Linked DNA regions of Homo sapiens: regions 2, 3, 4, 5, 6 and 7 are each linked to region 1. The links are contacts of gene promoters, found by promoter capture Hi-C in blood cells and fetal thymus (Javierre and others, 2016). All regions are on one chromosome and are shown on one strand. Each heading gives the region's core, a stretch centred on a gene start or on the middle of the fragment in contact. The rest is flanking DNA. Distances are from core to core; before and after follow the strand shown. Region 1 holds the start of LIX1 (limb and CNS expressed 1). Region 2 overlaps CAST (calpastatin). Region 3 overlaps CAST (calpastatin). Region 4 overlaps CAST (calpastatin). Region 5 overlaps ERAP1 (endoplasmic reticulum aminopeptidase 1). Region 6 has its middle 11 kb from the start of ERAP1. Region 7 has its middle 28 kb from the start of ERAP1.

Evidence for each region. Contacts are between HindIII fragments. The CHiCAGO score rates a contact against its expected background, and 5 or more counts as called.
Region 2: a fragment that was not itself captured here is called in contact with the fragment with the promoter of LIX1 in region 1 in 3 of 17 cell types (megakaryocytes, fetal thymus and neutrophils); the score reaches 5.5 in megakaryocytes.
Region 3: a contact is called between a fragment that was not itself captured here and the fragment with the promoter of LIX1 in region 1, in 12 of 17 cell types (naive B cells, fetal thymus, neutrophils and 9 more). The highest score is 10.0, in naive B cells.
Region 4: a contact is called between a fragment that was not itself captured here and the fragment with the promoter of LIX1 in region 1, in 11 of 17 cell types (total B cells, naive B cells, megakaryocytes and 8 more). The highest score is 11.1, in total B cells.
Region 5: a contact is called between a fragment that was not itself captured here and the fragment with the promoter of LIX1 in region 1, in 13 of 17 cell types (erythroblasts, total B cells, fetal thymus and 10 more). The highest score is 10.3, in erythroblasts.
Region 6: a contact is called between a fragment that was not itself captured here and the fragment with the promoter of LIX1 in region 1, in 4 of 17 cell types (total B cells, erythroblasts, fetal thymus and 1 more). The highest score is 6.7, in total B cells.
Region 7: a fragment that was not itself captured here is called in contact with the fragment with the promoter of LIX1 in region 1 in 6 of 17 cell types (naive B cells, total B cells, total CD8 T cells and 3 more); the score reaches 6.9 in naive B cells.

The regions. Positions count from the first base shown.
Region 1 is chr5:97,140,633-97,144,214 of GRCh38, reverse strand. It overlaps LIX1 (limb and CNS expressed 1), which reads left to right and starts at 1,604. Exons shown (of 6, transcript NM_153234.5): 1 at 1,604-1,720. The coding sequence starts at 1,639. RefSeq lists an enhancer at 1,588-1,657. The HindIII fragment of the contact is 8,667 bases long and covers 1-3,017 here.
Region 2 is chr5:96,691,204-96,694,785 of GRCh38, reverse strand. All of the region lies in intron 2 of CAST (calpastatin), which reads right to left. Among named protein-coding and RNA genes, the nearest start is that of CAST, 31 kb to the right of the region's middle. The HindIII fragment of the contact is 3,022 bases long and covers 443-3,464 here.
Region 3 is chr5:96,719,128-96,722,709 of GRCh38, reverse strand. It overlaps CAST (calpastatin), which reads right to left. Exons shown (of 32, transcript NM_001750.7): 4 at 12-71. Among named protein-coding and RNA genes, the nearest start is that of CAST, 59 kb to the right of the region's middle. The HindIII fragment of the contact is 1,062 bases long and covers 1,412-2,473 here.
Region 4 is chr5:96,769,570-96,773,151 of GRCh38, reverse strand. It overlaps CAST (calpastatin), which reads right to left. Exons shown (of 32, transcript NM_001750.7): 30 at 2,550-2,621; 31 at 1,450-1,508; 32 at 1-512. The coding sequence ends at 1,473. It also overlaps a transcript of ERAP1 not described here. Among named protein-coding and RNA genes, the nearest start is that of ERAP1, 37 kb to the left of the region's middle. The HindIII fragment of the contact is 374 bases long and covers 1,683-2,056 here.
Region 5 is chr5:96,786,322-96,789,903 of GRCh38, reverse strand. It overlaps ERAP1 (endoplasmic reticulum aminopeptidase 1), which reads left to right. Exons shown (of 19, transcript NM_001040458.3): 11 at 1,219-1,373; 12 at 3,355-3,434. It overlaps LOC124901031 (a long non-coding RNA gene), which reads right to left. Exons shown (of 2, transcript XR_007058877.1): 2 at 2,798-3,582. Among named protein-coding and RNA genes, the nearest start is that of ERAP1, 20 kb to the left of the region's middle. The HindIII fragment of the contact is 3,150 bases long and covers 732-3,582 here.
Region 6 is chr5:96,817,372-96,820,953 of GRCh38, reverse strand. It overlaps a transcript of ERAP1 not described here. Among named protein-coding and RNA genes, the nearest start is that of ERAP1, 11 kb to the right of the region's middle. The HindIII fragment of the contact is 1,041 bases long and covers 1,363-2,403 here.
Region 7 is chr5:96,834,459-96,838,040 of GRCh38, reverse strand. It overlaps a transcript of ERAP1 not described here. Among named protein-coding and RNA genes, the nearest start is that of ERAP1, 28 kb to the right of the region's middle. RefSeq lists enhancers at 14-513, 514-1,015 and a silencer at 2,013-2,062. The HindIII fragment of the contact is 3,530 bases long and covers 165-3,582 here.

The DNA of each region.
Region 1 (3,582 bases), core at 355-2,854:
GGGCCTGTGGTCCCAGCTACTAGAAAGCCTAAGGTGGGAGGACCGTTTGAGACTGAGAAGTCAAGGCTGCAGTGAGCCCGGATCATGCCATTGCACTCCAGCCTGCATGACAAAGTGAGACTCTGTCTCAAAAAAAAAAAAAAAAAAGGATACAGCTAGGGACTAAATTAAGCCTTGCATTTGAATTCAGGAGCCACTCTTCTGGAAGCCAAGGCTTGTTACCCCCCACAACCCTCCCAAATTTTAGTCACTTCTATTGGGCAGGGGCAAGTAAAACCTGACAGACTGTCTTACAGCTTGCCTGGGAACATTTGTTTCCCTATTTACCCTTCAAAGTGAATCATTCCCAAGGTTGACTTTAATTAATTCTGATGTAATTCACTTCCTTTCACTTAATAATTATTAAAAATTTCAGGGCAGGGTGCAGTGGCTCACGCCTGTAATCGCAGCACTTTGGGGGCCCAGACAGGATGATTGCTTGAGCCCAGGAGTTTGAGACCAGCCTGGGCAACACAGTGAGACCCCATCTCTACAGAAAATTTAAAAATTAGCCAGGCGTGGTGGCGTGTGCCTCCCAACTACTTGGGGTGCTGAGATGGGAAGATTGCTTGAGTCCAGGGCTCAAGCCCCTCACTTGAGTCAAGGCTGCGGTGAGTTATGATCACGCCACTGCACTCCAGCCTGGAGGACAGTATGAGACCCTATTAAAAAGAAAAATAAAACAAAGAAACAGGACGAGAAAATACATATATGTTTCTTAAGGTAGTTATTGAAAGATTTTTTTAAAAAATTGAGACAGGGTCTTACTTTGTCACCAAGGCTGGAGTGCAGTGGCACAATCTGGGCTCACTGCAGCCTCGACTTTCCAGGCTCAAACCATCCTCCTGCCTTAGCCCTCCAAGTAGCTGGGATCACAGGCATGCACCACCACACCCAGCTAATTTTTGTATTTTTTGTAGAGTTAGGGTTTCGCCATGTTGCCCAGGCTGGTCTGGAACTCTTGGGCTCAAGCGATCTGCCCGCCTCAGCCTCCCAAAGTGCTGGAATTACAGGCATGATAAACTGCACCCAGCCCCATAATCTTTATAGCACTCCTTTACCAAAGAAGAATTACACTGAAAATTTAGATTTATAGGGATTATACTGTTAACATATAGCTGGCAGTCCTGAGCTGGAAGCTGTCTTGTCATTCAGGAAATTTCCTGGAGAAATAACCTTCCTGATTCCATATTCCTGGGGGCAACACAATTGAAGATGGAGGGCCAGAAGAAATACTCAAGTCAGAAAGCTGCACAGCATTCAGACAAAATCTGGTTGGAGAGGAAAGCTGTTTTCATAATTTAGCGAGCTTCCCCAGCTAGCCTGTAGGTGGGTGTGTTTAACAGAAGAAAGCAATGGGAACCCGCCTGTCAGCCAGCCTTTCGAGCTAATTAGCTCAGCATACAACAAAGATAAGTGAGCCTGGGAAGAGGGCCCCCTGAGGGGTCTTTAGATTCTGGGAAATGTCTGATTGGCAGATGTTAAAAGGGATTCCTTGGTAATCCAGTGCATCAATGAGCTGCAGAAATTCAGCCCAGGACTGCAAGAATTCAGGCATGAGGACACTCTGTACAGGAGGCTCACACAGGCAGACCCAAGATGGACAGAACCTTGGAATCTCTGAGACACATCATTGCCCAAGTCTTGCCTCACAGAGATCCGGCTCTAGTCTTCAAAGACTGTAAGTACTGAAGGGGGAAAAGTTTTTTGACTTTTTAGAAAATAGTCCTAAACGTCAAGTCACATCCTATTTAAGTAAGATTTCTCCTAAATCTCTGCAGTCGTATGCTGTGTTCTAAGTGATATTTTAACTTGTTCCTGACTTCAGCCAGAAGAACGATTTCATTTCACCTACAGGCATTAGGCACTGGGTTATTCTGTCAGTGATACATCTTGCTAACTACTTAGAAGTCTCTTCTACAATCCAAGACCTGCCTAAGACTTAATGAACTTTTTCTGATGCTTTTTAAGTAAAGCAAAGCTGACTGGTGTTGAGATTAAACCTAAAAATAATTTGGAAATGATACTAGAATATATCAATATTTGTTAACCTGTTTAATACTCCACAACACATATTAGCTATGTTAATTCAAGTATCGTGTTTGTCTGAAAATATTTGTTGCAAACCAGAATTAACAGTAAATCACCACTGAACTTTTAAATTTTGATAACAGATTATAATGCTTTAGTTAAAAGGCCAATAAAATGAGATGCCTCCTAACCTCAGCAACACTCCCTGTGTGGACCCCCTACCACCATCACCAATTTATACAGCATGGCAAAGTTATTTCAAAATCTTTTTTTTAATGATTTAAAAATAATTCAATCAAGATTTCCAATTCTAGCAATACTATTAAACCATTTGTCATATAACTTCGTTTCTGGAACCAATTTGATTTCCTGCTGCTGCAAAACAGACTATCTTCATGTTGTATCTTATCTACAGTGGGTTTCATATTACAAAGGGCTTCTGAAATAGAACTGCCCAAAAGGTAAAATGCATATGGAATTTTTTTTAACTTCAATAGGTTGCAGCTTTCCTCTTTGTGAATCTAGTTGTGTTTGTCTCCATCAAAACATCAATGGTTTGAATTTTTGCTTTCTGATTGCTGAATAACGTTCCATTCCAGATGTCCTCTTAGCTTAGATTTCTCATATGTATGTTGAAGAAAGAGGAATGTTAGGCCATTTAATTCTATAAATTTTTCCTCTTAGATGTTAAATTGTAACCAATCTGTCCTTTAAGGCATAAAGTGAAAGCCTTTTCTTTCTCTAGCTCTCTTTTTAAATATTGTCTTTAGGCATTTGCCAATAACTATGTTAGATCTAATAAAAATCACTCTCTCCACTACTCTAGCCTGGAGTCTATTCAGGTTTGTTATGTTTTTTAAGCGAAAAGGGGAGGAAAGAATGTCTCTCTCCTACAATAGAACTGATTCACTAGTGAGGGATAAAAGGGCTCTCGGGCTGCCCAAGCTTTGGATAAATTGTATAGGACCAGGGTTCTTATGCTGAGCATTTAAATAGGGGAAGCAGTTAAAAAAAAAATAGGGGGGACGTTTTTCACTGGCCCATTGAAAACTTAATAAGTTCAAATGTGAAACTGTATAGCTCATTTTTTAGCTGAACTAAATTGCTGCGATTGTTTACAGTTTAGAAAAGAAGATAGACTAGAAAAAGGATTACAATAAAGCATACATTAAGTTCTGTCATCCAGGACTTTGCAGGACTTCTTTTATATGGGAGAACAAATAAGTGTCCTGTTTTATATATTTCATTCATTAACATAGAACCTATATTTGACCAGAGAGCATTGCCTGTTTACCCTAGAATGGACTGCTACTCGGCAACTGCTTGCATGGCTTAATAGACGTGAATATTAAACTGCCGATTCTCTCCCTTCTTTTCTAATCTGAAAAATGACTAAATGACAGTAAGCCAAATGGCACATTTCTGTACCAGGAGTTTTCCTAACTTTAAAACATCCAACCACTTACCAATCTCGTGGAATAAGTGGGAATGGGCTGCTTACTTTCTGGGACA
Region 2 (3,582 bases), core at 704-3,203, 450 kb after region 1:
GAAAATAAATGGGGGAAAAAGGAAAAGTAAAATACACAGTTGCTTCCTCAACAAGACCTTCATATCCTGTATCTCTTTCTCTTTCTTATGAATATCTATATTTCAAAGAAGCAAGCACATAAAGTTTTTTTGTTTGTTTGTTTGTTTGTTTTTTTGAGATGGAGTCTCGCTCTGTCACCCAGGCTGGAGTGCAGTGGTGCGATCTCGGCTCACTGCAACCTCCGCCTCCTGGGTTCAAGCAATTCTCCTGCCTCAGCCTCCTGAGTACCTGGGATTACAGGCACATGCCACCACGCCCAGCTAATTTTTTGTATATTTAGTAGGGTTTCAGCGTGTTAGCCAGAATGGTCTCGATCTCCTGACCTCGTGATCTGCCTGCCTCAGCCTCCCAAAGTGCTGGGATTACAGGCGTGAGCCACCGTGCCTGGCCAAGTATAAAGCTTTATAATGTAAAATGGTGATATGCTCCAAGGTCAATAAAGTGTGAATAATGTACTGTAAATATTGAATACACAAGGCAAGATAATGCATAAATTAGCTAGCATATAACACATTAAAGTGTTCTATGTCTATGCAACAAATATTTTATATGTATAATTGAGAATAATTTGGTTTCATTCTTTAATATTTAGAAGAAATATTTAGCCAAATTTATATTTTCTAATTTATTGAAAATGCATGCCATGGAAGTTTGAACTGAAGTCTTCTTTCCCTTCAGGGTAAATTTTGCCTTAGCATGCCCCAAAATCAAAACTTAGTTTGCTGTCCTCAAAGCACAATCTCTATGTGTCCACTCGCCAACCACTCTAGGGGGCCTCACAGGCATTTGCAGGAGTTCAGGCTCCCAGGCATCATCTGTAGAATAAATAGTCTCTCCCAAGCATACACTTACTACCATCAACCAAGGAAAGAAAAAAACCTAGATAAATGTGATAAAAACAAAAGAGGCTGCTAAGAAGCTAGTGATGCAGGTGTGATATGTGAGATGGTAAAAGGAGGGGATAACCCACATTTTATCCAGATTGCTAGTCTTTTTTAAATTATCACAAATAATAACAAATAGCTTCTGACAACCTTAATGTACAAATGGATTCTGTGTAAAAGACTGGACGTAAGACATAAAGACAAGAATACAGCAGTAGCATTATCCATTTCAACTTCATTACCTATCTCAACCTCTCATTTTCCAGCGAGGAAACTGAAGGAGGTTAGGTCTGTTTTCAATGTGACACAGCTGTCCCAAACTCCAGCTATTAGCTTTTGATCTTAGCTACAATTGAGGAAGGCCATGTTCCAATCCTGGGCTAATTACAGATTCCATTCGCTACATCAAAGCCCACATACTTAAAGTCTATAAATGGATTCCACTACTTACAATATGCCAATTAGGATCTGCCAATGAGAATTTAAAAATTTGTATTTTGGCTGTGATGAAACTATTAAGTTAAAAATAATGACTGTTTAAACTTAATTTATATGCTGAAAATGACTTACTAATAAACGAAATGTTTTTTAACTTAACGGAGGCTCCCTCAACTTTCTTGTGGGTATGATCTGTTCCCCTAAAGACTGGCTTGCTCTCAGAGCTGCCTGGATTACTTAGTCCACAAAGGACCAATGTAGTTCAGCTGAAGTGAGACTGGAATATGTAAAATCATCTTTCATTAAATTTTTATCTAACAAGTATTTATTAAGCCCTTTGTTGACATCTGGCACTGAAAATACAATGCAAAAGCCTTGAAATGCACCCATATACAGAGCAGACTCCTTACTTTCAGATTGGTAATCAGAGTTTAATTACATGTTGTTTTGGCCCCCTTTCTTCATTTGTGTCTGACTTCACATATTCATTTGTTCATTCATTCATTGGGAAAACTATGAGCCTGGTCCTATTCTAGGCAATGGGGATATAATGACCAATTAAACAGAAAAAGCTCCTGCCCTCGTGGCACTTACATTCCAGTAGAAAGACTCAGCCTTTAAGTAAGTCAACAAAAAAACAAGATGACTTCAGAGAATGGTGAGTCCTGAACAGACTGTGAGATGGGATGAGGTAACAGAGAGTGATTGGCTCAGGGTTGCTTCAGACAGGATGGATGAGGAAGTGACATTTGACTAACACCTGACTGCTGTGTGGAAACCAATCGTGTATATATGGGATGAGGGAAAGGAGGCATTCTAGGTAGACAGGGCAGCACGTGCAAGGGCCCTGAGGTAAGAATGGGCTTGGTAAGCAGGAGGAGCAGAAAGAAGCCAGTGCAGCCAAAGCATGCTGGGTACAGGCATGTATGGTATGAGATGAAACAAAATGCAGGATCAAATATTTATTCTGAAGTGATGTGGGATCAGAATAGCCCTATAGTCACATGAGTTTGGGATCATCAGTTTCTTCCAGGATCTGGTTTGCTTCCTAGTCTTCTCAGGTTACTACCTGACCCCCTGAGTCCTCCCTTGCCTCCAGGTGCAAGGTTTTCAACGTCCTCTGGCTTCATGTCACCTTGTGCTTAGTTTTGTTGGTATCTCTTCACACTTATACTCCTTAACATCAGCATCAGTCCTTAGAAATTCTACCCTGCCCTGAACAGATCTCTTAGCTCACTAGATCTGCATACTCACTAACTAGTGATAGGGCTGGATCCACCCTGAGGAAAGAATTCATCTACTCACAGTAAGTAGAAACTCTCAAAACAAGCTCATTTTTATATGATATTGCACCATCTGTTGCAAGAAGGCATGAAAAGAATTAGTTGCATACTTTTTTGTATATCTATTGTAGTTCAGAGAAAAAATTTTTTACTGAGTCAATCAGAACTCGAGTCTTTAAAATTTTCAAAATAACAATGAAGTTCCAAGAGCCAGGCAAAGAGTTGCTGTGTCACTGTCACTTAAAATCTTAGAAAAGGCTCCCTGAGTGAAGCCACATGTTTTACCCTGAGACTTCATGACTCTGTGAAGAAAGGCACCACATTCTCTAGGATAATGGTTCTATCTTATGATTTATATAGCAAGAGTCCTGTTCCACCAAATGCCAGCTATGAGATCTTAGGCAAGTTTCTGAACATTTCTCAACACCAGTTTTCTGAGCAGGGTGAATAACTCTGCTCATACCTCGGAAGGTGATTTTGAGGGTTAAATGAGTTACAACATATCCTGAGGACTGTGACCCACAGGTTGAAAATCCTGGCTCTAAAGGGAGAGGCCCAAAGTCCTTGCCCAGGTAGCAATGGAACAGACTGACCTCTGCAGGGCAACCCCAGTGGGTCTGGTTGGTACACATGAGAAGACTTAGTGGCTGCTGAAAATTTTCTATGAGTTTTATTATGTATACAATTATAAAAAATAATAACCTTTTATGGGATAGAAAAATGTAATTTTTTCCTTAGAACTAGCTCATGATTCTAATAATGGGATACTGTTAAGTTACTTGGAAACAGTTTGATTTTTTTGAGATTTGCTTTCAAGCTTTGTTAGGTTGGACCAGATCAGCTTTTAGAGTATGCGATATTGTGATATAATAAGAAATCTATGTAGTCATGTGCTGAATAAGGGCGTTTCACTCAACAACAGACTGCATTTTCTGTA
Region 3 (3,582 bases), core at 693-3,192, 420 kb after region 1:
ATTCTTCATACCTTGGTTTCTGTGGGATTCATACTGGAAGACTTGCTGGTTGCACCAGAGGAAGCTGACACCTAGAAAGGAAAGAAAGAAATAGAAAGTTCGATTCTATTTAACCTACAATCTACATGGTCCTTCAGCTCCTCTTAACCATACTGCCCTTGGCCCTTTACCTTGGTTTTACCCAGTTTAGAGCACAAAAATCTAGTAGGAGGTGGTGTCCAGTAGTGAAAGCCTTTGTAACCAGATCAAATAGGTTCAAAATTTGGGTCTGCTATTTACTAAACAATCTCGGGTAAGATACTTAAATTTTATAATCTCCAGTTTCCCAACCTCAATTTTTCTTTAGTAGTTAACAACTACCTTGTAAGTTTATTATTAGAATTACTCCCTGGCACATAATGAATGCTCAGTAAATATTATTATAATTACTGTTTATGTTATTTTCAGAAAAAACATGGATTTTGCAACTCAACAAAATTTTGTTCAAGCCCCAGCTCTGTCAGTTACAAGCTCTGTGACTTTGAGCTTTGTCTTCCAGGTCCATTTACATACAAAGTACAGTAACATCTATTTGCAGGGTCGTATTTGAGATAGTGTGGCAAAATGTCTGGCAAATTGCAGATGCTCATTAAATTGCCAGTGTGTTATTCCTAATACATAAGATAGAAGGACAAAACTCCCGTAAATAGACTTGGGTGGATGTGAACTGTCCGTTCAGTGTCATGTAAGAAAGAGAAGGTGGAGACAAGGTTACAGAGGGAATTCTACTGCATTATGTCTCATCTAGGCTCTTCCTTAGAAGGCAAGAGGTGATAAATAGTAACTATTCAAGGAACACCCTTCCTTGAGATGCTTGCAGTGGTGCAATCAGCCCCTGTGATCCAGTCATCTAAGTACTGGGATGTGTGTGTGGATACTTGTATGGTTTGGAGTACTATTCTAGTACTTAACTTGTATTACACTGGTTAATATTAAACAGATAATTATAATCTTTGCAAACTCCTACCCAGACTCATTTAAACCTCCTTAACACTTAAAGTCCATTAGGTTTTAGAACCCAGGGATTCCATCTGGCATGAGCTGCCTTCTTAAGTAACTGACTGTCAGTAAACAGCTGCTACCCTGCCAACAACACCCAGGGAAGGAAGCCTGTAAGATGGACCTCACTGTGTCCCTAATGCCTGGTCCAGAGCCACTTCAGAGGCTGAGTCACAGGGCAGCATGAGCCCATTCCTGCTTCTCCCTTACCTTCCCCCACCCCCAATACACTACCACTCAAGGTGATTGTATGAAACCCACTATAGTCTATGGCCCATGAACAAAATCACCTTCCCCACAAACCTCAGTTAATGCAGAACACATTGATGCTTGTAGTTAAACTATCATAATTTACAGACAGAAATCCAAAGCTTTAGTATACTTATTTTTCAAAAATAATCATATAAACATAACTATTCCTGAGAACCCTTAGGCACCAACTGGACACTCCCTTCCACCAAAATACACACACACGCACACATACAAGAAGCCCCAGTCACTGTAGCAGGGCATGGAAGGGCCTCTCTCATATTCTTTTTGGTACTGAAAACTGTAAGATGTACCAAGACAGATTTTCCCTCTATCAAATTAATGGATAAATATATGAATATCCATATTTTTCCTTGAAAATATTTTAAAACATTATGGTGCTTAATGTCCCTGTATTTATGTAATTCTATCCTTCCATAATTGGAATTGATTATACAGATTTCCATTCAAACTCAAGAAATTCCACTTAGCTGCATTCCATTCCTTTAATGATTCCCCTCAACCATGCAACACCAACACAGAAACCAAACACTCTATGTGAAAGTGCTTCTGAAGCTGAAAATCTTTAGGTAGACATATTTTCCACACATCCAAATGTATTAAATCATCCATAAAATCACATTGCCTTGAATTGTCCAGCCTGCCTTGTTACTTTATTAAACAATACCTTGAAGTGATCCTCAAATTCCAGAAAGGAGAAAACTTTCAGAGGGCCCCCATGAACAGTAAAATCTCTATACAGAACAGCTGAAAATCAGCAATGGCGCAGGGTGTAGTGGGAATTTAGCTGAGGGCCTTGGCCCCTGTTGGCAGCACAGATTACTGCATGAAAGTTTTCTTCCCTCACTAAGGCACTAACCATTTTAAAACTGAAATATGAAAGCTGCTTCATGGGAGCTGGAAGTAGGGAATATGCCCACCCCATTATTAATCCATTCGATTCTGGCTACAGCTTGTTCAATTTTTATTCTCTCTGTAAAGACAAGCAACTTTCAATATTTGTAATCTCTGGTGAATGAATGAATACACTTTCATTGTATACTCTTTTGCATTGTTTGAATTTCGTATCATTGATGTGGATAACATTTATAATAAAAAATTGTGAAGGGTTAATCCATAGATCTTCAAAGAGAAAGCACCTTAGTGATAAAGTTTAATACAAGCTTTAATATACAGGCTTTAAACAGGTGAGAAAAATGGAATCTCATGTCCAAGATTTTACCAGAGTTCATTGGCTCCCCCAGGTGTTTATCCAGAATATGCTCTGTGCCAGGTACTGTGTCAGGTGCTGGGGACACAGAGGTAAAACCAGTAGGCATGTCCCTGCCCGTATGAAAGCTATAGCCTAGTCAAAGATGGCATTAGTAGAAATAATCACTCCCAACAATTATTTGCTACAAAGGAAACTCACAGGGTTCCATGAGAATGTAGATGAGGGAACCATAGCAGTTCAGGGGATAGTTGAGACAGGCAGTTCTGATAATGTGACCTGTCATGCGGTGATTGGAGGATAAGGAGGGATCGCTCAGGCTGGAAAGGAGCACTCTCTGCACGAGGACCCTCCGAGCTGTGTACGCCAGGCCTGGGAGCTTGGCCATCTGACTTCTAACCCAGGTCCCTCTACTGCAGTGCCTGCCACTTGGCTGGTCCTGCTAACATCAACGGGCTGCCAATTTTAAAGCACAACCATCAGTGCTCATATACACCAAAATACCTCTAAAGAATTAATACTGTAAATCAGAGTATAAAGTGCTGCTATCAAAATACTACCCCTCCCAAATGACCCATGTACCTATCTTAATATCCCAAATATTAGTAATCATTTATAAACTTGAATTAAGGCACAAGTCAGAGTAACAAGAAGCAGAGAAAAGTTCCTTAATAGAAATTACTCTCCACTCACCCGCCTATTCAACAATTATTATTTAAAAAGCAATGTACAGATGGGTGCAATGGCTCACACCTGAAATCCCAGCACCTCGGGAGGCCGAGATGGGAGGACAGCTTGAGTCCAGAAGTTGGAGACCAGCCTGGGCAATGTAGTGAGACCTTGTCTCTACAAAAAATTTAAAAATTAGCTGAGTGTGGTGGCACGCGCCTGTAGTCCCAGCTACTTGGAAGGCTGAGGTGGGAGGCTCACTTAACTGTCTTGTGAGACTGGATGGGAGTAGGGAGGGTTCTGAGCTCCCCAGCAGGTCCTGGCAAGTGAGCCAGGATGGGAAGGTAAGGGCTTCTATAGAAGCAGGGGCAGAGGAAGGGGGCTCCTAGGATGCG
Region 4 (3,582 bases), core at 620-3,119, 370 kb after region 1:
TCTTATGTTTGACTTATAAACATTATCCCAAAGCAACATCAAATACAGTTCAAAAGCCCAAGAGGAAAGGGGGTAATAAGAAATCAGAACACTGAAGAATGTTTAAAACATTGTTTTCTAAACACTAACAAAAAAAATTAAGGGCAAACTGAAAATACAAATGAGATTTACAGGCACTGTGTGTAGAATGTGCAAAAATTCACTTAGCTTTTCTTTTGTTTTTTTGGTGTTGCTTTAAGAAACTTTATCAAATATATTTCTTACAAATATAAAGCTTTCTCTCCCAATTGAAGGCAATTAAAAAAATTCAAAGTTTATCAATACTCAGTACACAGGTGAACCAGTCAAATTCATTTTCTTTCTGGAAAAGAATAACAAACCAATATTTAGGATGTTCAGAGACTCAACAAAAACCATTCTAGAAATCACCCAGAACAATTGTTTTCTGTTGCCAAAGCCTTTTGTTCTTCAAAAGTCACCATCCACCAGCTGAAGATTTTACATGCAGATACCTTAAAAATTTCAAATAAAAAATGCAGTGAATCATTTAATATGTAATTTTCTTGTTACAGACATAGTAAATATACCACTTAGCAAAAGCATTGTATAACAGACAGAAGGAATTTCCTATAAGTAAACATGAAAGTGGATTAATAGAATTTTTTTTAATTTTGGGAAAAATGTTAGAGCAGTTCTACCTAATATAGCTCCTTTTTTCCTAGGAAATAAACATGGATCATGGTGAGAGAGCTGAACCCGATTTAACCTATACTTTGATTTCTTTTAGGCTTTGGTCAGTAAGTGCTTGTATGCTTTTAAGGCTTACATTAAGCCCTCTCCTTTCTGAAGATTAAGATAAGGGCCCAGTTCTGAAGATCTCAGAAATCCCTTCAATCTGTCCAGTTTCTTCAGCAATTATAAATTAGAATCAAACACAGTACTTTACTTTCCAAAATAATGACAAATAAAAATGGCCAATCTTTTCCTTTGCCCTTGTTCCCAAAACCCTGTAATTTCCACCAGACTCTAAAGGGTACTTCTCCCCACCCCACCATGTATTGGTATTCTGGGGAATGCCAATGTCTTCAGGACATTTCGCTAAGTTGTAACATGCTAATTTTGCTTTGCCACAATAACCTGCAGTAATGAGCATTTGGATTTCAAAGATTCAACTAGCCTCAGATGGTCATTCTAAGTGCCTGGCCTAATATTTTTAAAAGCTTTTAATTATAAGATTAAGGTTTTTAAACATTTCAATAGCAAACTCATCCCATTTAGTGCTTTCAGAGAATGACCAATTACTCTGTAGATCTTGCAGTATGCATTTCATGCCAATACTGTAAAGTGAGCATGAATTACTCAAGAGGTGGACTTCACTTCTCTCATCTATAACACATAAATTGGCAGAAGATACAGTTGTCTTCATTTACAAATAAACACCCAACTTACCAGATACCTTAACTTGTATTTCTTTAGTCATCTTTTGGCTTGGAAGTTTCCTCTGTTGTCTAAAAGGGAAAGCAAAACCATCCGTGAGCTTTCTTTTCTGTATTAAGTATGAGGAGATGGCCTTCTCAGAATTAGGGGACAAAAGATGGCAGTCAGTGGGGAAAAATAAGATGGTCCTTTCAGTTTCTCTTCTTCATCTGGCCACAATATTGTGAGTTCTTCCTCCTCAAGCTTATAAGCTAAAAATAACCTTAAGTGATCCTGATCCTAAATGTATCACTCTCAGCTTTATTTTTTTAAGGCTAGGGTAGGTTATAAAATATGCATAGGTGTTCTTAAATGGCAATGTTTCATTCTGTGGTGATCCTTCCTTTCCTGTACATAGGGTCATGGCTGTCCAGTAAATCCACTCATCATAAAGGGTTATTATGCTTTCTATTATTTGTTAAAGGGCTGATTAAGTACTTCGTATAACTGAAATTAAATAATAGGCAAATAAGTATTTAAACTGAGATATAATGGCATAACTGCCAATTATCAATGCTGTTTCCTATATCCCTTAAGGGAATCTACTACAGGAAGATTTTAATATATTGTTTTAAAAGCTTTGGTGTAACTGGACTATTGTCTTTAAAGCTACACCTTTAACTCCTCCTTATAGCCAGGGGATCATAGTAATAATCATTTAAATCATATGTTCTTGGAATTGGAAGGGACCTAGAAGTTGTCTAATCCAATTTTCATTTCTCATCACAGCTTGAGTAATTTTAATAATAGGAAGTTTCCAACTTCCATGTTCTAAAATCTATATAAACCACATACTATGGTGGTATTTTAATTAGGGCAAGAAAGACAGGCAAAACACAGGCAAATTGGGTTGTGTCAAGAACATTCATTTAGGATTTTAAAGCACCAGTTACTTAAAAATATATGTATTTATACAAATTCAATTACTTTACCAAGCGATGCTATGGGATAGATAGTACTTTAAGAAATTTTATTCTAAATAGATTCCAGTAGGAAACTAAATGACTGAAATGATAAACCCTACTCTGTGTAACTGCTAAACTAATTTGTAGTATATTTACTGCTCCATTTACCTTTGCTGAATCCTTCGCTTTACCTCCATTCTTAGGTGCTTTGGAGCTGGAAGCAGCCTTCTTGCACTTATCCTAAAGCAAAGGAAATGTAATGAGGCTATGGCTATCACCAATCCATCTAGCAATTAACTAGGCTGCAGTTAAATTAATCCAGACCATTCTGAGATCTCCAATTTAATTAAATAATGGAAGACTTTGGGTGTTTTTTCATGATTTTTTTTGAACAACGGTGTCAGAGAATTGTTTAAAGCAGGAGGGAAAAAGGATAGAAATAAGGAGGGAAATGTGGGTGACATTGATGCTCTAATTCCCGTGGTGCCTGACTCACCCAGACCTTATTTTGCTAATCAAAACAGAGCTTGTCAATAGATAATAAATGTCGGCAAGGGTGTGGAGAAAAGGGAACCCTAGTACACTGTCAGTGGGGATGTAGATTGGTATGGGCTATGATGGAAAACAGTATATAGGTTCCTAAAGAAATTAAAAGTAGAACTACTGTATGACCCAGTAATCCCTCTTCTGGGTATATACCCAAAGGAGATGAAATTATCACCTTATAAAGATATCTGCACTCCCATATTCACTGCAACATTACTCACAATAGCCAAGATATGGAACAACCTAGTTGTTGATGAATGGATAAAGAAAATGTCATGTATATATACATAATGGAATATTATTCAGCCTTAAAAAACGATATCCTACTATTTGTCACAACATGGATGGACCTGGAAGACCTTATACTAGATGATATAAGCCAGACACAGAAAGAAAAGTGATTTCACTTATATGTAGAATATATATAAAAGAAAAAGCTCAAAAACACAGAGAATAAAACATGGCGACCATGGTAGGGAACAGGAGGAGGAAACAGAGATATAGGTCAAAGGATACAAAATAGCAGATATGCAGAATGAACAAGTGTAGAGAGTTAATGTATAACATGAGGACTAAGGTTAATAAAATTGTATTAGGGATTTTGTTAACTAAGTAGATTTTAGCTGCTTTTGTCACAAAAAGTAGTTGTGTGAGA
Region 5 (3,582 bases), core at 1,057-3,556, 360 kb after region 1:
GCACATGTTAAGCACTTATATGTATTATCTCCTTTACTCTTCATAATAAACCTGTGAGCTGGGTACTATTACTATCCCTATTTTTAAAGTTGAGAACATGAAATACAAAGACATCTGATTGGTAAATTGCAGAGCAGAGATCTGAATTTAGATCTAACTCATGTTTTTAACTGCTAAGCTATAAAGTATTCATAACATCAAGTCACAAAACAGCCTGAGTCTCTGTTCATCTGGACTTGTGGGATGTTTTCAGAGGAAGCTGAGGGTGAGTCTGGAGATACAACAGAATTTTTTGTTTCTTTTTTCTTTTTATATGTTTACTTTCTTGGCTTTTTTGTTCCTAGAGACTGCTTTATTCAGTAGTTTCTAGATTTGTCCTGTGGCACATTTTATCTTTTTACTAATTCTTTTTTTTTTGAGACAGAGTCTCACTCTGTTGCCCAGGCTGGAGTGCAGTGGCGTGATCTCGGCTCACTGTAGCCTCTGCCTCCCCGGTTCCAGCGATTCTCTTGCCTCAGCCTCCCAGGTAGCCGGGATTACAGGCACACGCCACTACACCCGGTTAATTTTTGTATTCTTAGTAGAGATGAGGTTTCACCATGTTCGCCAGGCTGGTCTTGAACTCCTGACCTCAGGTGATCCACCCAACTCAGACTCCGAAAGTGCTAGGATTACAGGCATGAGCCACCGCGCCCAGCCTTTACTACTTCTTAAATCATTTCTTAAAAGCTTTTTTAGTATCAAAAAACAGCTCCTTTTGAGTTCCCACTATTTGTTGAGTGTGGGTCATCTCTGTGTTCTCACTTTAGAAACACAGGCTCTTGACTGAACATTGTTTCCACCTTGCTTGTCCAAAACCAGCATAGTTAGGTAGGTATTGAAAACCTGGCACTTTCTCTCCCTTCTCTTCCTTCATTCATTCACATGCCTGCTTTGTGCCCAGTGTTATTGCCAGCCCCAAAGTGTGCCCGGCAGAACTAGGTATGCTACCTGTCCTCCAGACACGTATGTGTAGTGGAGGAAAATGACAAGCAAACAGCTGGTGCTCTAATGGAGGTGTGATGGCTGGGGACATCACACTGAGAAAGGGATCAGAAAGTGCTCCTAAGAGGGGAGGTTGGCAACTGGTAGCGGCTGTTTGAGCATAAGCTGGTGTTCTCTCTTTTCTTAGAGTTGGGTTAAATGGGTGATGTGTCTGCCTTTTTGTGTACACACCAGCATTGGCATCAGGAAGGGGTGGATGTGAAAACCATGATGAACACTTGGACACTGCAGAAGGGTTTTCCCCTAATAACCATCACAGTGAGGGGGAGGAATGTACACATGAAGCAAGAGCACTACATGAAGGGCTCTGACGGCGCCCCGGACACTGGGTAATGCTCCTAGAGTAAAATTTGTTTTGTTGTCTAGGTAACATCTGCCTTGTAGGATGGAACCTTGCTTTTGAAATAATGCCCTTACCACTATTGCTAAAATATTTCAGCTGCATCTGTGTATCCTATGAAGTTGACTTATACTCCCTGCCCCCATCTTCCCAGTAGGATTAAGGAGGCTTTAAACCTTGGTTATTCTCAGTAAAGGTGACGATGTAATTACTTTAACATTCTCATATTTTGTAATTTGATATGATGGTAATTTCTGGTTACTGGCTTGAAATCAACTCCAACCTAAGCAACTGCTACTAGATTACAATAGTGCCTAGCATTTGGTTGGAGCTGAGGACAAAAGAATTTAGGTGATTTCCGAGAATGATGAGAGACTCAGTTGTCTTCTTCTGAGTTAGATTTGGAACCTGTTTGTCAGCTTAATGCTATAGAAGAATATTATTAGAAACAAGATGCTGCAACTTGATTGACCCTGGATGGATACCGTTAAAAAATTCTTTTATCTTGAAACAATTTCAGACTTATAGAGAAGTTACAAGAATAACACAACAAATTCCTATATATCCTTTACCTAGATACATGTTAACTCTTTACTCCTTTACTTTCTTCACCTCCCTCTCTCTCTTGCTCTCTCTCTCTCTCTATATATATATGTATATGTTTGTGTGGATATATGTGTGTGTGTATATATACATATATATGTGTATATATATACACACACATATATATATATAATATATACACCTCCCTCCCCCATCTTCCCAAAAGGATTAAGGAGGTTTTAAATCTTGATTAATCGATATCCATCTATCTACATACATACCTATATACATATGTCTGTATGTATATACTTGGCATATGTTTTTCTGAACTGTTTGACAGTAAATTGGTGACATGATTCCCCTTCACACCTAAATGTTTCAGCATAGTATTTTCTACAAAACAACATTTATGGCCGGTCACAGTGGCTCATGCCTTTAATACCAGGACTTTGGGAAGCCGAGGCAGGAGGATCACCTGAGGTTAGGAGTTCGAGACCAGCCTGGCCAACATGGTGAAACACCATCTCTACTAAAAATACAAAAATTAGCCGGGCATGGTGGCGGGCGCCTGTAGTCCCAGCTACTCAGGAGGGTGAGGCAGGAGAATCGCTTGTACCCAGGAGGTGGAGGTTGCAGTGAGCCGAGATCGCACCACTGCACTCCAGCCTGGACAACAAGAGCGAAACTCCATCTCAAAACAAACAAACAAAAAACAAGAACATTCAGTTATATAACCATAGCCACAGTACAATTATCAAAATTGGGAAATAAACTTTATATAATACTATTATCTATAAATCCCATTCAACTTTTTCCAATTGTCCTAAAAATATCCTTATAGCAAAATAGAAAATAAATTCTGACTTAGGATTTAATACAGGATCACTTATTTTATTTAGTTGTTGCATCATTTTGGTCTCCATTTTTTTCTGAAACAACTCTTCAGTCTTTTTTGGGCTTCTCGATATTGACATTTTTTGAAGAGTACTGGCCAGTTATTTTATAGAATGCCTTTCAGTTTGGATTTTCTGCTGTTTCTCCATGATCAGGTTCAGCTTACATATCATTGACAGGAATCCCAAGGAGGTGATATTGTGTCCTTCCTAATATACTATTCAGGAGGCACATGAGTCCTGAAGTTAGGCCTCTGAGATGCAATCAGCCAATCACTGTAAAAAGGCTTTCAGGGTTCACGTGAGTCCAAATTCTTAGCTCTACTCAAGGAGTCCAAGAAAAGGAAATAGTGCCCGAGCTGACACTCCCTACAAAGCTGGAAAACAGACTGGGGATGTTTTGAGAGCTTGGCTGTAGCAGTTTTGGTACTATCTTGTTCTAAACTAACCAGTGCCTGGCACATGATAGGTGATTTAATAACTGCTTGTTGAATTGAATCAACAAATGAACAATCCACCTCTCCTTTATTTTAGGTACCTGTGGCATGTTCCATTGACATTCATCACCAGCAAATCCGACATGGTCCATCGATTTTTGCTAAAAACAAAAACAGGTAATTTATTTTGGAAACTACTAGTTAATTCAAGGAGGAATGTGAAAATGTGTAGGATTAAAGTGCTGTTTCTTTTGCTATTTATCTTGGTTAAAGCAAAAGGGATCAGATTGAAAATGCTTTCTGGTTTCAAAGAAGAATGGCCAAT
Region 6 (3,582 bases), core at 634-3,133, 320 kb after region 1:
TCTTTCTCCTGTAAGTTTTATTTCTCTGGAGAACCCTGATACAAATATTCAAGAGAAGTCTCCAGAGTAAGTGTTTATACAGATTTAGAGCTCAAAAGAGAAATCAAAGTAAGTAAACAAACAAATTAGAAGTTATTACTATGAGAGTGGTATCTCTGAATCTGAGGGAGCTGAGAAAATGCAAGAAAGAAGAGGTTACAGACAATATCAAACATGGCACAAAACCCAACATGATTGAGAAAAAAATATTTAATCTGGCAACTAACTAATCAGCATTTGCTTATTTGCCATTTAGCAAACAACATAGCTTAAAAAAAGACAAATGAAAGAAAATCTCATTTTCAGAATTAGTAGCAATTTTATAGGACTCACTGAAAAATTACATGGTTGTAGATGTTATATGATCCTCAACAGTTTAAGGAAAACTAGTAACGTTTAGATTTCAGCAAACTTTTACAAGACTGTTTATCAACATTCAAATCTGAAGTATATTGTTTTTTCACATATTAAGGACCAGATCAGATCAGCAATTAGAAGTATGACATACAAAATAATCACCCTCAAGGAAGGTTTAAATTAGGGATGAATTTCCAGTATTGACGTTCCAAGCACCCTGCATATTCTTGCTACTAATTCTGAAAATGAGATTTTCTTTCATTTGTCTTTTTTTAAGCTATGTTGTTTGCTAAATGGCAAATAAGCAAATGCTGATTAGTTAGTTGCCAGATTAAATATATACTTGAGTATATATTTTCTCCCATAAAATGCAGTAAAATGATTTTTAGAACTTTGAGAGATCCTTTCAAGAATGTTCATGAAATTTTAAAGCTTTTTTTGCTGTTTCCGTTGAGATTTTATCACTTGAGAAAGTGAATATGCCTGTGATGGCAAATGGAGAACAACAGAATTGGGTTGGGATGTGGATTCTGAGTCATTGGCCCACATATGGGTGAAGTGACTCCTTCTCTTGCATCTGTTCATGTAACTCTAACCTACGTCTCGGCAAAATTATAAACTACCCAAGTGCTAGACCTTCAGGTCACACCCAAATAGTCAAAATTGTAAATATTAAATCCATAGGTGCTTGAAGTCTATTACACGCTCAATCTTTTGATGATGTCCTAAGAAATAATGACTTCACTCACAAAATACTAGAATACTGTGCTGAATATGCAGGGTGCTTGGAAAGATCCATGTCAATACTGGAAATTCATCCCTAATTTAAACCTTCCTTGAGGGTGATTATTTTGTATGTCATACTTCTAATTGCTGATCTGATCTGGTCCTTAGTACGTAAAAAAACAATCCTAGGAAAAGTGTTTGGTTTTTCAAACTTACGGTATAACAAGTTTTGAAGAAGCTTCAAGGCAAGTAAAGGAAACACACCTGAGTTTTGTTGGTAGAAAACATTTTATTTTCTCTCTCTCTCTCACACACACACAAACACACATACACAAACACACACACCCCTCTGGAGCCACAGGCTCTCCTGCCTTCCTCCTCTCACAGCAATTTTTCTTTGGTTCTTCCCCATTGTTAGTGAAATAGCTGGAACTCACCAGTCTACACCGCTGATGATTGTCTGTAGGATGAAAACATGATGATATGGTGGTAGCAGCTGTCCATGAGGCTTCTGACAAATGAAGCTGTTCTTAGAGAGTACTTACCTGAAATTGAGTGATGTTACAAAATCACTGAAATAAAGTCAGTTGGTTAGAAAATGCAGTTCAAGCCGGGTGTGGTGGCTCACGCCTGGAATCCCAGCACATTGGGAGGCCGAGGCGGGCAGATCACGAGGTCAAGAGATTGAGACCATCCTGGCCAACGTGTTGAAACCCCGTCTCTATTAAAAATATAAAAATTAACCGGGCGTGGTGGTGGGTGCCTGTAGTCCCAGCTACTCGGGAGGCTGAGGCAGGAGAATCGCTTGAACCTGGAAGGCGGAGGTTGCAGTGAGCTGAGATCATGCCATTGCACTCCAGCCTTGGTGACAGAGCGAGACGCCGTCTCAAAAATAAATAAATAAATAAATAAATAAATAAATAAATAAATAAATAAATGCAGTTCAGGTTTGGCTTCATTGGAATTTAGGTTGACCTCAATGTATGGGAAAGCAAAGAAATGTCACTTTTCTCATGGAACACAAAAGACACTACCTTCCTTTAAGTGAATAGTGGAATAGCAGGTTATAAGATTGAGACTGTGGTTTGTTTATTACAACTCTTAAAATTAAACGCTACTGATTCTCACCGCAATAAAACTATCTTTATCCAAGAGGGAGGATTTATGGCATGGATTCTGAATGCCTCGGGCGTTGAAGAAAGCTGGAGGAAAGAGGTAGTCCCAGGCCTTAATTAAGGATGAACTCAGAAAACCTGCACAACAAAAAAAGCCTCTCAAGCTTAGCCTCCTTTTCTTTCTTCTTTGGGGTTATTCTCTCAGCCATCACCCATAGCGGGAACTTAGCCATTAACTCTAGGGCCATATTTATATAGTGCTGGGAACATAAAGGAAAAAAAAAAAAAAAGAGGCTTCCCTGTTAGCTTCAGCCAGAACAATCCTGGGCTGGGAGTCTGCTTGGACTGGCTTTGCCCTTGGCCTCATCGCGGTGGCCAGAGAGTGGAGGTGTTGTGTTCATCTCAGACTGAGCCTGAGCAGTGTGATTATTCATTTACAGGAGGAAAGGGAGGTGTGTTGAGCAGGCAAAAGGGTTTTAAAGCCCCTGGAGACATTCCAAATATACCAAATGATAACTTGATTTTTGGCAATATGCTTCTGTCACAATGTTAAATATTCATCTCACTCCCAAGTGCCCCGTGTCTTTCATAATCTAAATCTACGATTGGTACCTCAATTATTATTTTTTGTTCTTAATTACAATCAATATTACTTGAGGCTTCCTCATGATTGCTTTATTTCTTTTTTATTTGTTCAACCTCAGTACAGTTTAATATTTATTGCAGATATTGGGACTGGCTCACTCAGCATCTCTTCCAAACGCTTTTCAGAATTTCTCACACCACTGCAGAGTCGGGAAAGCAAACACTTTATTTTCCAGACTCCTTGCTCCTAGATTCTAGATGTGCTTTAGGCTCTGCCAAACAGTAGCACTGGTGGGAGACTTGAATTTGGAATTGAGTTCGGTAGGGAGACAGGCAGCTCTTGAGCTATTCATTTTGTGGGGAAAGATTGTGGCACACATGGTATGGTTCTGGAGCCAGCAATTGTGGCAGAGGCTGCCCAATTTAGCAGATGGCTCCTGGATCATGGCAAGAGAAGCAGTTTCACTGGTGGCCAAGTTCTACATTGTGGTTTTGCGATTTGTTTCTGGAAGCTCAGTCTAGTGTATTTTTTAAGCCTTCCCAATGATTATGTAAGTCATGTAATAGCCTGCAATAAATCCTTTTCTGATTAAATAGCTTAGTGATTCTGTGCTCTGCCATTGAACCCTGACACAACATAGAAATTAGTTTTTAAAATGTCATTGATCTTTTTGATTGTGTTATTTTTCTTTTTCTTATTTATAATTGCATGGATACAAAACATGAAATGAGGTTGGCATTATTTATTGCTTTGATGAGC
Region 7 (3,582 bases), core at 680-3,179, 310 kb after region 1:
TTAAAGCCCCAAGCTCCACCAGCAGAGAGAGAAGAAGAGGAGAAGAGGAGAAGCAGTGGGATGTCAGAGACTACAGTTGGACATTGGAGATAAGCAGGTTGACTTCAGAGGGACGGCTTGATGGCGTAGTTTCAGAGAGGGATGGCGGGACTCTGGGGAAAGCTTATCTTCCTGCTCTGTCCCCCTTTCAGCTCCCCTTCACGCTGAGAGCCACTTTCACCAGCAATAAAATCCCCCGCATTTACCATCTTTAATTTGTTCATGTGACCTCATTCCTCCCGAATGCCAGACAAGAACTCTGGCACAGGTGCGAAAGGCTGTCACACTGACCCTCCACTGAGCTGTTAACACTTAAGCCGTCCACTGACAGCAAAGCTAAAAGAGCACTGACTGTAACATTCCTTCTGGGGCTTCAGGAGTTGCAGGTACCTCCCTAGACGCTGCCATGGCACCTACAGAGTTTTGCTCCTGGTGGCGCCCAAAGGCACTCGCCTCGGCTCCTGCACCACCCACCTGCGCTCCCCGTCCCACGAGGGGTAGAACGCAGTGGGTTTGAGTGAGTGGAATTCACCCTGGCTGAAGCTCCTGCCTGGGTCCAGCGCCCGTGCACTCCAGTTCCCGCCCACGAAGGGGTCGGGGAAATTTCCTGCTTCATTAACATATAACTACTGACCTAATGTAGGTTTGTTTGCTGTTGTGTTCTGTACAATAACTTTGAAAAACTATGTACCCTTCCAACACTTAAAAATGTTATCTCTGTATCTAAATTTCAAATATCTAAAAGTTTTATACATTTAATAGTTGTAAATGATATAATTCCTGGCATATCATAAATATTGACATTTAAAACTCATACTACATTTTAAAGTGTGTCCAGTGGAATGTGACTATCATGAGGAATTGATGCCTACATATCTACACTAAAAAGATGAACATGTTCTTTTTTAAATAGTTAGAAGTTCCTCCTTCCTCTCCAATTCATTTTCTCTCCCAAATTTTAGCCTAATATATTTTGATTGAAAGTCCTTATGACATCATAATTTTTTGAAACAGAAATATGTATGAAAATTGAAATATAAATAAAAATTTAATTTTCAGTGACCTCAAGGCTTAACTATTTAAAAAATCTTCTGATTTGCATTATCATTATAATTTTTATTGATACCCAATTAATCAAAACAAGGTAAGTACATTACACATTTTGATACATTATTTAACATGACGTATCTTTTAAGGAGAAGAATGAGGCCTGCTTTTCAATGGATGCATCCACATATGGCTCTTTATTGCTAGAATAAGTTGGGATTCAGCATCAGTTTTATTCCTATTTTAAATTATTTTTATGTAAGTGCTAAGGAATCTTATTTATATTAGTTGGTGGTTGGGGATGAAATGAGTTTTGTTTTAGCAATGTCACTCAATTATTTGAACTCCTTGCCACTAATATGCCAAAAATCACATAGTGACCTATCATCAAAAAGTATTTTTAATGATCTACTAGTTAGGTCTCCCTTTAATTTTGTTAAAACCAAAGATGTGGACCAGGCGTGGTGGCTCACGCCTGTAATCCCAGCACTTTGGGAGGCTGAAGTGGGGGGATCACTTGAGGTCAGGAGTTCGAGACCAGCCTGGCCAACATGGTGAAACCCTGTCTCTACTAAAAATACAAAAATTAGCTAGGTGTGGTGGCTCAGGCCTGTAGTCCCAGCTACTTGGGAGGCTGAGGCAGAAGAACTGCTTGAATCCAGGACGTAGAGGTTGCAGTGAGCCCAGATTGCACCACTGCACTCCAGTCTGGGTGACAGAGTGAGACTCTGTCTTGAAAACAAACAAACAAAAAACAGAAAAAAAAAAAAAAAAAAAACCAAAGAGGTGGAAAATCCCTGAAATGTAAAAGGATTTGTTTTCCGGTCATTGAAGGCATTCATTTTTTCAATACCAGAAATATTATTTCACATTTCTCTCTGACTCATGCAGGTTTCTCATCTCAGAAATTGTATCATAGTAGTATTAACCATGGAGAGAAGTTGTTCCTTCTTTTGTCAAGTGAAAGCAAAGGTGAAACGGAGGTCCCATATAACCTTAAAACCACAAGAGTGTTCTCAGATCATGTTTGGATAGAGTATGCCTGCAGTTGAAATTCAGGAAATTGATGCCCTGTTAGAACCACCTGTCTGCCTGGGTGTCCCTTGGAAAGCCTCTGTGGTTTCCCAGAGGTCCAACCCCTCCTTTTGAAGACCCTGCTCCAGTTGATAAAGTTTGTAGTACCTACTAAGTAGGATGGGCCTTTCCGACTTGTGAGCCTTCGTACTGCTGGCTTTTTGAAGGATTTATTCATGTTTGTACAACTGTAAATTTGTTATGATAGTACAGTAAAACATGGTTATACAGAAGGAAAACACACTGTAAACTTAGACTTAAAATCAAACACATAGAGGTATTATTAATATACAACAAAACAATCAGCAATAATTGTTTTAAAAAGCACCTGGAATTTTTTTTAACATCATTTCGTACAAATAAACTTCCCTACATGTAAGGATGTTCTACTTTGTTGTTTTTAAAAAGATATATGACAGAAAATCCTGACAACAGGGTTGGAATTTGAGACCAGCATCTGAGCTTCTACCTGGTCTTCATTTGTGTATTTTAAGATCCTTGTAGCAATTCATGTGGCTTAAAGGAGCAGTGTCTTGTCCTCAATCAAGTTCTTGTCAGGAACTTGACAGGTCCCTGAAGATCTCACCATGTGGCAAGGATCACTCAAACTCCAAAGAAGTTCTAAAGCAGCTTTGGTCATAACCAGCTCGACAACTCCAATTATCCTTTTAGCCTTCTAGGACAGTCAACAGCAGAGTTTTGTCTTTCTCAAGAAATATCATAATTTTATCTTAAGCCACAGACAGTGTCATGGTGTTACCTTCTTTACTGTGAAAGCAAACTTCTCAGCCACTAGTACACGCCTAACAGCCCCTTAGTATTCTTTGAAATGTGGAAAGGGACAGCACACAACAAATACTAAAGGCCCTCATCCTGGTGGTTCTCAGTCGGTTGTGTGCCTAAGAATCATGTGGGTGTTTCTTTAAAATGTAAATTTACAGTCCCCAAATCAGATTTTGATTCAATGGGTCTAAAAAACTGCCTATTACTGGGTAAGTATTATGCAGTGTTTCTTTGTGTAACAAAAAATTACATAGAAATGAATCCTCATTAGATGATTTATACAGTAGAGGTTAAACACCATGCAATTATGATTTAGTAATAACAGTGAAATAGAAATGTTATTCCTTCCCACAGCATCAAACACTTCCAGTGATAACATTCACAGGTTTATTGTGTATGTTTCTTCATTGAAGAAACTCAGCAAATTGCACTACCATTTATTTGGATTGATTTTATTTTGATTGAGTTCTCAAATCTTTTTTTATTCTTCCAGTAGTTCATTTTACTGTGAACTAGACCACAGGTAAAAGTTTTGTCTCAGTATAAGTTCACATACATCAAACTCAGGACTCCACTTACCATATCACAACTTAGCAGTTAACTTTAAGTTCCTCAAATTGGATATGATCTGATCACTGT